2 separate regions of the Homo sapiens genome follow, and region 1 is linked to region 2. Evidence: promoter capture Hi-C in 16 types of primary human blood cells and fetal thymus (Javierre and others, 2016). All regions are on one chromosome and are shown on one strand. The core of a region is centred on a gene start or on the middle of the fragment in contact, and the rest is flanking DNA. Distances in the headings are between cores, read along the strand shown. Region 1 overlaps NOS2 (nitric oxide synthase 2). Region 2 holds the start of TMEM97 (transmembrane protein 97).

Region 1 (6,861 bases), core at 1,757-4,256, 540 kb after region 2:
TTGCAGGTTCCCAACTCTATTCTGGACGTGGGAGGCCTTGCTGTTGTGTGGAAGGCAATTGGGCGGGTGTTCAGAAGCCCAGCAGGGCTACAGGGCCATGCTTGGTGGTGTTGGAACCCATTTGCTTCTCCCAGAGGAAAATTGTATTTTTCCAAGTCACAAGTACATACCTTGAACCCCTGCTTCCCTGAGCAAGAGAACCTGGGGGTGTGAACGGGGAATGGCAGCCTCTCCTCACAGGGACCCTGGCAATCTAAGACATGACCAGCTGAGCAGGTTCAGTGGCCTTTTGTATCTGAAGAATCATAGCATATTTAGAGATTGTGACTTGCTGCATGTTACATTTAAATCTGTTCACTGATGATGAAAGCCACTCCTTTTTTTCAGAGCTCATAGACATCATAGCATTTCTAATGCCTTAGAAAATGACTATATGAAAATGGCTATCACATCTAAAACTCTGAAGGAATTGGATGTGAATGTAAAAAATAATCCTTTCTTGCATATGCACGTGCTGACCACCATGTGTGTTGGTGGTGTGGGTGTTATGGTGATCATTACTGTTGTCATGCTCAGGTGCAGAGGGGGGAATATTGCTGGAAGCTTTGTTTGGGGAGGGAGGTCTCCCAGCAGTGGGGTGGTTCCCACCTCACCCAGCAGCTCCTTATGGCAGGGGTGTCCTTGGGGATAAATATCATCAGTGTTTTGTCTTTGTGCTTTTTTTCTCTAATCAAGGAAAAGTTGTCGAGACACTCTTCATCCACAGAAAGGCCATTTTGTTCAGAGTTACCCACTCTCCTTAATCAGGAGTTCATTCTTTAAATAGTTTTGATGCTGTTTCAAAAGGCTTTGGTGCTGACTGGAAATCTCAAGGTTGTTGTTGTTGGTGGTGGTGGTAGTGTGTGTGTGTGTGTGTGTGTGTGTGTTTCAAAGCCTTTCTGACTGAGTCCCTCCCTCCCTTTGGGATATTTTTGAAGTCTGGGAGGGGAGGAGAGAAGCAAGTTTAGAATTGCATATGGAGTGACTGAATGAGCAATTCTGAGGCTGAGGAACAGCACGGTTTAGAGAGACTATGACGTGGGCAGCTCTTTTCTGGCCAGGCCCTGGGACCCTGCAGACTGAGCTCCGATAGCCAGGTCCCAGTCCTGGCTTGACCAGGCTCCTGAGAAGGGTGGGCAGGCCCTCAACATCTTTGGGCTTACTGTCCCCGTAGGGTGGAAGATGGAAGGTCACGTTGCTGACAGTTAAGAACCTGGGCTTGGCATCAGGGCGACCTGGGTCTGAGTCCTGACTTTGCTCTTTCCTGTACTTATGTTCCTGGGCCTGGTGCTTAACCTCCTAGAGCCTTGAGATCCTTGGCTATAAAATAGATGCAAAAATACCTCCCTCCCAGACTCAGTGAGACCCTGCCTGTGGGTTGCTTCACCCAGTGCCTGGCTCATGTGGGTACCCAGTACACCGGAGCTGCCACGGAGGGACTGGCTCATCTCTCAGTCATGGCAAGGAAGGAGGGCACTCTACTAACTAATGGAGAGGCAGGACATTGCTATGGCTGGATGGGACACTCCTCCCAGGCTTGCAAGTGTCTGAGAAGGATTGCACCCCTTACTGAGATGAATATGATTAAAGAAAAAGCACCTGAAAATAAGCAGTGTTCCCATGGGCTCAGGACTGGCTAGGTAGTATTTATAGGACTCAATGTAAAAATGAAAATGTGGGCTCTTTATTTTAAAATGATTAAGAATTTCAAGATGGGGACAGCAGAGCATTGAGCGTGGGGTGCTTCTAGGCTAAGTGTGAGGTCCCCAAAGCCAGCCCTGGAGGGAGCTGTCTCTGGTGAGAGGCATCTTGCCCTTCTGATGTCCTATTTCAGTTCCTGCTTCTGTGGATTGAATTAATCCCCATGTAAGGCCATCTCATTGTTGATCTTCCTGCTGTCTTCCTGTCCCCCAGGGCAAAAATAGAGGAACATCTGGCCAGGGTGGAAGCGGTAACAAAGGAGATAGAAACAACAGGAACCTACCAACTGACGGGAGATGAGCTCATCTTCGCCACCAAGCAGGCCTGGCGCAATGCCCCACGCTGCATTGGGAGGATCCAGTGGTCCAACCTGCAGGTGAACTTCCTTAGACTTGAGCGGGAGAGAGCTGGAGGCGGCCAGGCCCTGAGCAGATGGCTTGGAACAGCCACACAGAGCTGTGCCCAGGCCTCCTGGGACTGAAGCCATGGCCCTGGATCCTCTCTTACATTCCCAAATGTTGAGATGGGGCACCTAGGGTCCCTCTCTAGAAGCCTTGAATCCTGTTTCAGCACCAGGGTTTCTAGCTGCCCATTCTCTATTGTGTTAAATTCAGGAGACTAAATGCCATCATTAGAGTAAACCACGACCTTGTTTTTATTACACTTGAGGCCGTGGTGCTGCAAGATGTGTTGTTTTCCTCCAATGCTTGAATTCTTGGCTCCAAGAGAACATTTTATTTAGCCTAGCCTCCTAGGCCATCTTTTTGTTGGGGAGTCATTTGTTGCAGGATAATATCAAAAGCACTTGGACAGAGAAATCGATTAGAACTGCCAGTGAAACCAACTCTGGCTGTGTAGTATGTGCTGGTGTGGGAAAGGACCTAGCCTGGGGCTGTGGCAATCCCGATTCATGGTGCTTTCAAGTCAGGTTTTCTTGGAATTCTGGGTTTGCTGGGGTCTTCTGAGTGGGGTTGCCTGTGCTCCCCTAGAGGGCAGCCATGAAATGGGAGCGGTGGTGCAGATGGGAGGCTGAATTCTTCTGCATGGTGTTGAGTGGCAGGTGCAGATTGGAGGCTGCACTCTTCGGCATGGTGTTGAGTGTTTGTGTGTTGAGTGTTTCGGCTGCACTATTGATTCCCAGTGACTTCTGATCAGCCTCAAAGCCTCTGTCTACCCAGTCTTTGATGGGCATGGTCTGGATGGGCTGTTGCAGGTCTTCGATGCCCGCAGCTGTTCCACTGCCCGGGAAATGTTTGAACACATCTGCAGACACGTGCGTTACTCCACCAACAATGGCAACATCAGGTCGGTGCACATTTCCCAGGGCTGCAGAGGGGCTTGCCTTGCCTGAGAATCTTAGCCAAAAGATGCAGCACTTGGGTCTAGGGGAGGCATCTCCAGCTCCAGGAGAAACCAGGGAGAAAGAAAAAAGAGAAAGACTCAGGCTTCTTCGGGGACTTCCAGTAGTGAGCCCAGCCCCTGTGAGCTCAGCTCCCATCGGCAACCCATGCCCTTGGTTTCCTTCTGATGTGGAGCCACTTGGAGGGGATGGAGGATCTTTAAGAAGTAACTGCTTCACTATTCAGGGTTGGGGCTCCCATTTTTTAGAAGGCATGGGACATTAAGAGGTTACCTTCCTCTCCCAACCAACGAGGTCAAAGCTAATAGGACTGAACAGCTCATTTGGTCATTCATTCATCTTTTTGTTCAGCAAACACTCAGTGCCTACCTAATGCAACTCAACACAGGACAAGGCTGGGAGAGCAGGGGGAAGATGGGGTATGGGGGGGTAGGAGGAAGAGTGACTAGGACCCTAAGATGCTGCTCCAGCTGGTGTGAGCCTATGACCTGCACTAGACAGGCAACCAGCTAACTCAACTGCAAGGACGGAGACATAGGCAGTGAGGGAAAGACTGGCAGATCAGCTAACCCTGCCTGATGGATGGGAAGGCCCCCTTGAGGGGGTGGACCCTGGGTCTTGAGGGAGGGCAGCAGGAGAAGGCATGTCAGGAGGCTGGCTCAGTCAGCTTGGGATCAGGGGCTGCAGAGCAGGTAGGGTGGAGAGGGAGGTAGGGCCAGTGCAGGATGGCTGGGCCCCCACCAGGGCTAGGTGGTAAACAGTACTGTTCCTGTCCTGGGAAGGTCGGCCATCACCGTGTTCCCCCAGCGGAGTGATGGCAAGCACGACTTCCGGGTGTGGAATGCTCAGCTCATCCGCTATGCTGGCTACCAGATGCCAGATGGCAGCATCAGAGGGGACCCTGCCAACGTGGAATTCACTCAGGTACCCGGCCCAGCCTCAGCCACCGGCCATTGGGGCGGGGAGCCCCGTGGTGAGCGAGTGACAGAGTGGAGCCCAGAGGAGACACGCAGCCCGGGCTTACAGACTCACAGGGCCCGTCTTGTTCCCCAGCTGTGCATCGACCTGGGCTGGAAGCCCAAGTACGGCCGCTTCGATGTGGTCCCCCTGGTCCTGCAGGCCAATGGCCGTGACCCTGAGCTCTTCGAAATCCCACCTGACCTTGTGCTTGAGGTGGCCATGGAACATCCCAAGTAAGTAGGCTGAGGGTGCTGGGGGCAAGGGCGAGTCAACACACAGCCCTTCTCCTTTCCTAAGTGCGGCTCCAGCCTTCCCCATACCTTCCCTAAAGCCCAGCCAGCAGCAGGTGACACTCAGGGGGCTGGCCTTCAAGGACTCTTTTGTCACTGTTGCATTCTGCAGCCATTCTGCACTGGCACCTCGGGCCTCAGACAGGTGGATGTGTTGATGCTGAGGGGAAGCAGAGGCTTAGGCGGATGGGGCCCCAGGAGCTTGAGAAGCAGTGACTGCAGGAGAGGAATGCATTGAGATTCTAGAAAGGAGCAGCCCAGGCCTCTTCTGCCCTCCTGCCAATGCTCTTAGCTGTCCCTCTCCTGTCGGGATCATATAGGGCTGCAGTGACTTCAAGAGTCCTACTGGCCCAGCCCCTGCTCTAGGCAGTTCTCATAATTGCAAAAATACCTCTGCGTATTGAGATTTACTCTGTAGCAGACATTGGGCTGGGCTCTTCTTCCTGGCCGTTGAATGAACCAAATTCAGTCCTGACTCACAGCCTTTGTACTCCCTGTTCCCTTTGCATGACATGCCTTTTCCTCAGAATTTTTCTAGGCTCATTTCTTCTTGTCAAAAGGTATTTCCTATAATGTCACCTCCTCTGAGAAGGCTCTCTGACCACTCAAGCTAGAGGAGGCCCCCTTACCCTCAGTCTAACACATCATCTTGTTTTTATTTCTTATATATTTGTTTACCCATTTATAATCTAGAGTCTAGACATTAGACTACAAGTTCCTTGAGGGTGGAGATCTTTTCTTTTCTGTTCACAATGTATACCCAACAGCTAGCAGAGTGCCTGGCACATAGTAGGTGCTCAGTTATAAATATTTGTGGAATAACTGAATATACAAGTGAATGATATTACTAGCTTTATAATAATTCCATGAATTTGATGCTATGTTTCTATTCTGATAATGGGGATGTTGAGGCTCAGAGAGGCTAAAAAACATCCCAAGTTCACACTGCTAGTCAGAGGCAGAACTTGAACCCCAGCTTCTGACACTGGAGTCCTTAATTGCTCTGTTGTGTTGCATTCTCAGCATTTAGCACAGAGCCTGGCACATACTTGAAGCTTAATATAGGTTTGCATGAATGAATGAGTGCATGAATGCATAATTTAATAAATGGCATCCTATGTGTCCAATACGTCTCTCTGGCTGGGATTAACTCAGAATCAACTCTTGGAAAGGAGTTTTCTTGTTTGACTCTTTCTGAAGCTTTTTTCTTGGTGGGCAGGTGGGGGGTCAGTGGGAGGCCAAAGGTGCAAAAGTGAAGCCCCCAGCGCCAGACAAGGTAGTTCACACCTGTAATTCCAGCACTTTGGGAGGCTGAGGCAGGAGGATTACTTGAGGCCAGTAGTTCGAGACCAGCCTGGGCAACATAGTGAGACTCTATAAAATAATAATAATAATAATAATAATAATAATAATAATAATAAGGAAAAAAATTAGCTGAGCAAGATGGCACATGCCTGCAGTCCTAGCTACTTGGGAGGCTGAGGCAGGAGGATCGCTTGGGCCCAGGAGTTAAAGGCTGCAGTGAGTTATGATTGTGCCACTGCACTGCACTCCAGCATGAGCAACAGAGCAAGACCAAGTCACTAAAAAAAAAATAATAATAAAATAAAAATAAGGAAGGCCCCAGTTAAATTGTGTCTACCTTTTTGCCAGATACGAGTGGTTTCGGGAACTGGAGCTAAAGTGGTACGCCCTGCCTGCAGTGGCCAACATGCTGCTTGAGGTGGGCGGCCTGGAGTTCCCAGGGTGCCCCTTCAATGGCTGGTACATGGGCACAGAGATCGGAGTCCGGGACTTCTGTGACGTCCAGCGCTACAACATCCTGGAGGTAACCCAGCCAGCCCAGCTGGCCAGATGAAGGTGTGGGCCTGGGGGTGGCTTCAGGGACCGACTCGCCGCTATCACTCTGCCTCTGTAGGAAGTGGGCAGGAGAATGGGCCTGGAAACGCACAAGCTGGCCTCGCTCTGGAAAGACCAGGCTGTCGTTGAGATCAACATTGCTGTGCTCCATAGTTTCCAGGTATGTCTGGAGTTTTGTGAGTCTGAAGACTTTTTGGTGAGAAGCTTAACTGATCCAGTGACTTATGTGATGCTTAATTTATAAGTAAGCCCCCTTGCTCACTCTAGAGGTCCAGCAACAGGCAGCTCCTCACCTCCCAAGACTGTTCAATCCCTGTACTTGAGCACTGAATTCTGTCCTCTCTCAATCGCTCAAGGACTTTACTCCCAAAAATTTTCCTCTTCTCTCTCTGTATCATCAATGTCTCTCTCTCTGCTGAGTCATTCCCAGCAGTGTACAGACAGGCTCTCTTAGCCCCATTTCAAAGAAAGAAATGAATAGCTAACCACATAACTCCTGCCAAACCTCAGGCTCCCTCCAGCCACTGCCTCACCCTTCTGCTCCTTTCTACAGCAAAACTATGGAGAGATCTCATTGTGCTTCCTCATCCCCCAACTGCTTCAGCCTGGCTGGGCGACAGAGCAAGACTCCGCTCAAAAAAAAAAGAAGGC
Region 2 (7,220 bases), core at 2,975-5,474:
GCATTCTGGCCATTTGAACTTCACTTTCTATTCAATTTGTTTACAACCTCTCTGATCCAACTATTTCATAAACTGAGGCAGACTTGTACAGCACTTTAATTTCTAAGGCCTACAAGATGAGATCAGCAAAATTTAAAAAACAATCACCCAGATGTCGTAATAATGAATTATCATAATCGTAACCAACCATCTGCCCACAGTCATATACCTGCCACCTGATGCCAGAATGAGGCTGGGACTAATTGTGAGTAGGAGAGTAGAAAGCCCAGGCACCTGGCAGATGGGTGAGGCGTGTAGGACCTGGGGTAGAGTGCCTGGCTTTAGGCAAGGCCTTTAATCTCCCTACACTTGTGTCCCCATCAATAAAATAGAGCCAGTAATAGTGCCTACTTCACTATTGGTAAGAGAGTGACTTAATACATGTAGTCTTTAAAATAATGGCTAGCACATAATGATTAATTGAATGTAATTAATACATATTTGGAGATATTCAAGTTTAATCCCATTAAAATCGCAGCTCACGACTGGTCATTAAAAATTATTAGTTATGGCCTCCCTACCAAAGGTAATGAAACTGTTTCCACTTATACCTGACTCTATTTGACTCAACCCACCCTTGTTATACATAAAAGATTCACCTGGCCTGCACGCACGATCTCTAAACCAGTGGTTGCTACTCACCAATCTTGTACTTCTATAATTTAGAATGGGAACACAGACTGATTTCAGAGCCAGATGCTCACTTGTTTTTCCTTATTTTTACCAGAAGCAATGTTACCCAGCTGCAAATGATACTACAAAATGCTTCCCATCCTCTCCTTACCATGTTCTTATCCAAACTAAATTCTTACTGTTTCATAATAAAATAAGAGTTTTTCCAGGCCAGGCGTGGTGGTTCACACCTGTAATCCCAGCACTTTGGGAGGCTGAGGCATGCAGATCGCTTGAGGTCAGGAGTTTGAGACCAGCCTGGCCAACATGGTGAAACACCATCTATAACAAAATATAAAAATTAGCCAGGCGTTGTGGCAAGCACCTGTAATCCCAGCTATTTGGGATGCTGAGGCAGGAGAATTGCTTGAACCCGAGAGGCAGAGGTTGCAGTGAGCCGAGATTGCACCACTGCACTACAGCCTGGGCGACAAGAGACTGTCTCAAAAACAAAATCAAAAAAAAAAAAGAAAGAAAAACAAAAAGTAAATAAAAAAATGAGTTTTTCCAAGCAGTGATTTGGTGCAATCCAAGAAAAAAAATTTATTGTGCATGTTTCAGCCCAACCACTAGGTGATCTCCTACAGGTTTTTTAACTCTAGGGAAACATTCCTTCTATTTCAGGAAGAAAATGACAGATGTTAAATTTTGGCATTTTTCAAAGAGAATATGAGAATAACTCAAGGCGTTTATTATTATTTGCCCCATAGAGAAGCAACAAAATCAGCATTTCCTACACCAAAGCAACAAGAATGGAGGCACAGACCTTCCATGCCAGGATGCCACCGAGCTAATGCCTTCAAACATCATCACACACACAGATACACACACACCCAGGATGCCCGTGCTAATGCCTAAATCTCACACAAACACACACACACACACACACACACACACACACACACACACACAGGTTCTGGCCAGATGCTGCCTGCACTGGCCCTTGGGCCTTCTGCAGTAAGTCAGCATTAAAAAAATAAAGCTGACGCTGGGCACGGTGGGTCACACCTGTAATCTCAGCACTTTGGGAGCCCGAGGCAGGAGGATGGCTTGAGCCCAGAAGACCAGCCTGGGTAACACAGTAAGACATCATCTCTACAAAAAATAAAAAATTAGCCAGGTGTGGTGGTGTGCACCTATAGTCCTAGCTACTCAGGAGACAGGTGGGAGGATCTCTTGTGCTCAGGTTCAAGGCTGTGGTAAGCCATGACTGCATCACAGCACGCCAAGCCTGGGTGACAAAGGACCCTGTTTCTAAAAAAAAGACTGAGAAAATTTTATCAAATGTAAACATTTAAATGGGATCTTTATGATATGATGCTGAGCACCTTTTAAGTGTATTTTGTTAGGGGTGAGCAAGACGGGCTTGTGAGAATGGCACATCCAGGAAGGATAAAGAAGACAACAGCTGTGAAGTCTGGAATGGCTACATGGAGTAGCAGGCTAATTACCAAGTATTAAAAGGTCCTATAACACCAGAGATTGTAAACAGGCAGCCTGTCTGAGTATTGCTGGCCACACAGGTTTCAAAAACCACAGATAGGCCAACACTGTAGTAGATTTTCCTTTCTTCAGGGCAATTAATGGTTACTGCAGAGCTGCGATGACCTCTTCGGTCTTTGGGAAGAGTCTGTACTCTCTGGCCCTGTAGTAGGCTGAATAATGGCCCCCAAAGATAACCACATCCTAATCCCTGGAACCTGTGACTATTACTTTATTTGGCAAAAGGGACTTTGCAGATGTAATTAAGGATTTTGAAATGGGAGATTTTCTGGGTTATCTGGTGGGCCCTGAATGTATGACAAGTGTCTTTATAAAAGCGAAGCAGAGGGAACTCTGACTACAGAAAGGGAGGCAATGTGATGACCCGAAGCAGAGATTGAAGTGACGTGAACACAAGCCAAGGAACATTGGCAGCCACCAGAAAATGGAAGAGGCAAGAACCAGATTCTCCCCTGGAGCCCTCAGAAGGAGTGAGCCCTGCCTTGATTTGAGCACTGTAAGATTTCATTGTGAACTTCTGGCCTCCAGAACTGTAAACAAATAAATCTGTTAAATCACTACATTTGTGGTAACTACAACAGCAATATGAAAACTAACCCACCCTGTATATGTTTGAGCTTATAATTTAACTCAACTCTCTCAACAGTTGAGGAGGATATAGAGCCCTGACCTGCCCAAGTCACCTCCAGTTCTTGGAAGAACCAAGTCCCCAGACTGCAACTTGCTACACGCTACCTACGCTTTTCCCATGCAAAAGGAGGTCAGAGGTCTTCCAGTTGTGTTTGGTTCTAGAAGCAAACAAAAAAGAGTGACTTATGGGAGTGGTAGAACATTCTTGAGCCGTGGCCTTTTTGGGAGAGTTAGGCCCCTTGAAAAGTCGATGGAAGCTATATTCTCCTTGCAGGAAACAAAAGGCACACACACTTGCACCCATTTTTGGGAGTTCATGACCCTCAGGTAAAGAACCCCTCCTCGGCAGATAAAAAGCATTTAAGGAAAAACAGACGCAAAATAAAATCTTCGGGTAGACAAGTCAGTCCTGCCTACAGTTATAGATAAGATGGAGAAACAAAACTGAGGACAGGAATTCCATGGAAGAAGGTCACAGGGTCCAGATACGAGAAAAAAACCTCAACGAACCGGGAAACTAAAACTATAGCTTTGAAGAAAAAAACAAAGCATTAAAGCAGAGTTTGGGGTTGAAAGAATGCTCTCCAACAACCAGGAAATCGGGATTTTCACCTTTATTTTTACTCAGGAGATCATTGTTACTCGAACCCAATATTGAAGAGCCAATCTGAAAAGATGGCAATTTACTCCTGAGCTCTGGAAGTTGCTGGAACCTGATCTCGAAGCAGTGACGATCTGTGAACGCCCCAGCTGCACCAACCAAGGTGCTAAACCTTCAGACAGGTCTATTTCTACTCGGATTTTTTCTTTGGGATCAGACTGGTATTTTAAAGCCCTTCCAAACAAACAAACAAAAAACCAGAAGCTTAAAGCAAACCTAACATGTGACTTTGGACACCACTTCATCCAGACTACTTCCCTCAGACACTGACAACCGGCCAGAGGTGGAATCGCGGGAAACCTTAAACCCAGGGAAGAAGTGACTTTAAAGGAAACAAAGCGTTCGCCCCCGCCGCTTGGGAGAAGGGGCTGGGATAGAGACAAAGCCCGAGGAAAACACCGAACTAAAGTTGGGTTAGGAGCGGGGGAGGCATGGGCAGGACCCGAGAGAGGCAACTGGAACCCAGAGTGCGCGAGCGCGGAGGAGGTGAAGGCCCTGTGGACGCAGCGCCGGGAGAGCCTCAGCGGGCCGGGATAAGAGGGGCGCCCCTCACCTCGACTGGGTAGAGCTCGCGCGGCAGCACCGCCTGCAGGTCCATGAACAGGGTGATGGGGATGTGGCTGAGGAAGTAGAGGCCCAGCAGCCACTCCACGCAGCGCCTGGTTGCCGGAGCCCCCATAGTCTGTCGGTTGGGCCTGGACCCGCTGATGTGAGAAGAGGGGCCAAATCCGCGCGCCTTCCCAGACCCACGCGCCTCGGTCGCCGCCTTGCCCCCGCGAGGGCTAGGCAGACCGCTTCCATTGGCTGGCGAGAAGAGGAGGCTCGTGGACAGGGGGCGGCACTCCCCACAGGGCGCACCCATTGGTCCGTATAAGTATAGCGCGTGGAGAAGGCGTCTCGTAAGCCATTTCCATTGGCCGCCAGGAGCGCCGTGTGGGCGGGGCTTAGTCACGCCGTTCGGCGCGCGGCTACTCAGTGTAGATTGCGGTTGTGAGCGCGAGCCTAGCGTTTCGGTGCTGGCCGCGTGGTATCCTGGTGTCCCGGCAGCTGCCGGCGGCGCTCCCTTCCCTCGTGGCTCCGTTCGCCACTACAACAGCAGTATGAAAACTGCACTGGCCCTTGGGCCTTCTGCAGTAAGTCAGCATTAAAAAAATAAAGCTGACGCTGTGCACGGTGGGTCATGCCTGTAATGTCTGCACTTTGGGAGCCCGAGGCAGGAGGATGGCTTGAGCCCAGAAGACCAGCCTGGGTAACTTAGTAAGACATTATCTCTACAAAAAATAAAAAATTAGCCAGGTGTGGTGGTGTGCACCTGTAGTCCTAGCTAGTTCGTGTACTAGTGACCAGCGCCTGTGCTGGGCCGCGGTACCCCGGTGCAGTGCGGCCGTCACGGAGCAGGGGTCGCAGAGCGGGGCACGAGCGCCGCGGTGCAGGTTCCCGGCCCAGCCGGGGTTGCGGGTCTGGGGAGGCAGCTGGCCGCGGTGAACAAAGAAGCAGAGGGGAGGACTCGAGGGACGTAGGAGGCAGTAAAATGGACAGGAATCCTCACCGGCTGTGGAGCATGAGGGAAGGTCAAGGATTCGTTTACACGTTCAGCAAATACTGATGTTCATCTCCACGCTGGGCGCAGGCCTGTCTCGGGGCAGGATCGCCGAGGCTGCCATTTGCTAAGAGGGGACACAGGGCAAGGGAGTGCGAGGAAGGAATGCAGCTTGGACTACGTGGACCTTGAGTGGGCTGCAGCGTTGGGTGGAGGAGGCAGTTGGGTGAGCCTGTCTGGAGTCGTAAGCTTGTGAGGCATCCGCCTTTGATGGCGAGCAGAGGGCCTGGGAGAGATCCTGGGGGAGCTCCAGCCTCAGGTCATGGGAGGAGGGGACTGAGATAGGAGCGTACTAGCAGGGGGCTATGTCACAGGGAGGGGCAGCCTGTCAACACTGAGTGATGCCCGCCTGTGGCCCTGTGGGGAACAGTTGTGTCGTGGGGGCAGGAGCCAGGGAGTAAGAAAGTGGGGAAATGGAGGCAGGAAGTGTAGACAGCTGGTCACGAAGGGGAGAAGACATGGGGCAGTAGCTGGAGAGAGATGCACTCGAGAGTTTATTTTGCAGGTGAGAAAGACTTGAGCTAGTTTAGTTTTGACAGTGGGAGAGGTTACCCCTACTCGAGAAGAGCAGGAAATGCGGCTCAAAGCCCTGGAGGAGGCGGAGGGAATGGAAGGATTGGGGTGGGTTAGGTGGGTGCACTGCGCTCCGCCCAGCTTCCCCTTCCCTTGGGGCGCTGTGGGCTAGGACAGAGGGATTATGGCAGTGTTGAAGGCCCAGCTGAGGTGGGGGGCCGCTGACCCGGAGGCCCCAATCTCTTAGGCTGTGTGCTTTGCATTTCTCTAGTGCGGGGTCTACCCAGAAGAAGGCTGTTGGACCCCTACAGAGTTTGGGTTCAGAAAAGCGAAAGGTGGCTTTGAAGAGCTGAAGAAGAGTGATTGAGGTGCAGAAGGTTGCAGTTCAAGCTAGGTAGGGGGAGAGGGAGAGGTGAGGCCAAAGGGGGCTGTAAGACAGGGAGACAGTGGAGGCCTGCTGAGGAACACGTGCCAGCGTGATGGGAGTCACTGGGCCGGAAGGGTGGGAGCTTATGAGGAGGGCGTGCAATACCTGAATTCCTGGGGTCAGGAAGAGGTTCTGCCCGTGGGAGTGTGCGGCTGAAATGGAGTGGAGGGGAAGGTCTTTGGAGATGAGGTCAAGGGAAGGCCACCCAGGGTGGTGGTGGCGAAAATGCCACTGCACACGGGGGAGTAACCAGAAGGAAGGTGAGCATGGGATGAGAGTGGAGGGGAAACTGTGTGGACATGGCCTTGCGGAGGGAGGAGGCCGCTTATCCTGACCTTGAAGGGTGCGAGAAGGTGAATAGCCTGCGCTGGAGAGGGCTGTGGGGAAGCTGAGTCCTCAGCCAAGTGCCAGTTACTGGGGGAGGTAACAGTGGAGGGGTTTGGCTGGAGAGGAGGAGGAGCAGGTTGGAAGGAGACAGTAGGAGAAATGTGGAGGTCTTTGGGTGGGGAGCAGGGGATGAACAGCATGGGTGGCTGAGCATCGTGAGGGCACACAGTTCTGGCGTCCCCCAAGTCTCAGGTCAGCCTTGCCCAGGACCACAGAGCCGGCAGCCACAGGGAGGCAGGGGTGTTCAGGGCTGTTTGTCCTGCTCCGAGGGGGGAGCCGGGCTCCATGGAGAGAACACTCTACCAGGGGCTCAGGAGGGAGGACTCAGAATTAGCTGCTGCTTTTTTTCCAGGAAAAAAAAAAAAAGTCAATGCCTGGGAAACCTTAGGTCACCTGAGGAGAGAGCCCATTTTGTTCACACCATAAATCTTTAAAGGCAGTTTGCTCTTTCTCAGACTCCACTCTGTTCCCAGACTAACTACTCCTGTTAGTCACTTAGTAGCCATCTTGGTTATCAAATTGACCATTGAGTTATCACGGTGCTTGTGTTCAAGTAAGCCTTATGTTATTTAATAGTGGGCCAGGTGTGGTGGCTCATACCTGTAATCACTTTGGGAGGCCGAGGCAGGAGGACCCCTTGAGGCCAGGAGTTTAAGACCAGCCTGGGCAACATAGCAAGACCCCATCTCTTAAAAAAAAATTAGCTGGGCATGGTGGCTTGCCTGTAGTCCCAGCTACTTAGGAGGCTGAGGTGGGAGGATCTCTTGAGCCCAGGAGTTTGAGGCAGC

What was found. Contacts are between HindIII fragments. The CHiCAGO score rates a contact against its expected background, and 5 or more counts as called.
Region 1: a fragment that was not itself captured here is called in contact with the fragment with the promoter of TMEM97 in region 2 in 1 of 17 cell types (M2 macrophages); the score reaches 5.4 in M2 macrophages.

The regions. Positions count from the first base shown.
Region 1 is chr17:27,778,199-27,785,059 of GRCh38, reverse strand. NOS2 (nitric oxide synthase 2) reads left to right here. Exons shown (of 27, transcript NM_000625.4): 6 at 1,954-2,116; 7 at 2,954-3,045; 8 at 3,883-4,024; 9 at 4,154-4,293; 10 at 6,004-6,178; 11 at 6,269-6,370. Among named protein-coding and RNA genes, the nearest start is that of NOS2, 19 kb to the left of the region's middle. RefSeq lists an enhancer at 1,554-2,053. The HindIII fragment of the contact is 4,802 bases long and covers 606-5,407 here.
Region 2 is chr17:28,316,204-28,323,423 of GRCh38, reverse strand. It overlaps TMEM97 (transmembrane protein 97), which reads right to left and starts at 4,224. Exons shown (of 3, transcript NM_014573.3): 1 at 4,059-4,224. The coding sequence starts at 4,184. RefSeq lists enhancers at 4,101-4,160, 4,641-4,900, 5,120-5,945. The HindIII fragment of the contact is 1,585 bases long and covers 3,712-5,296 here.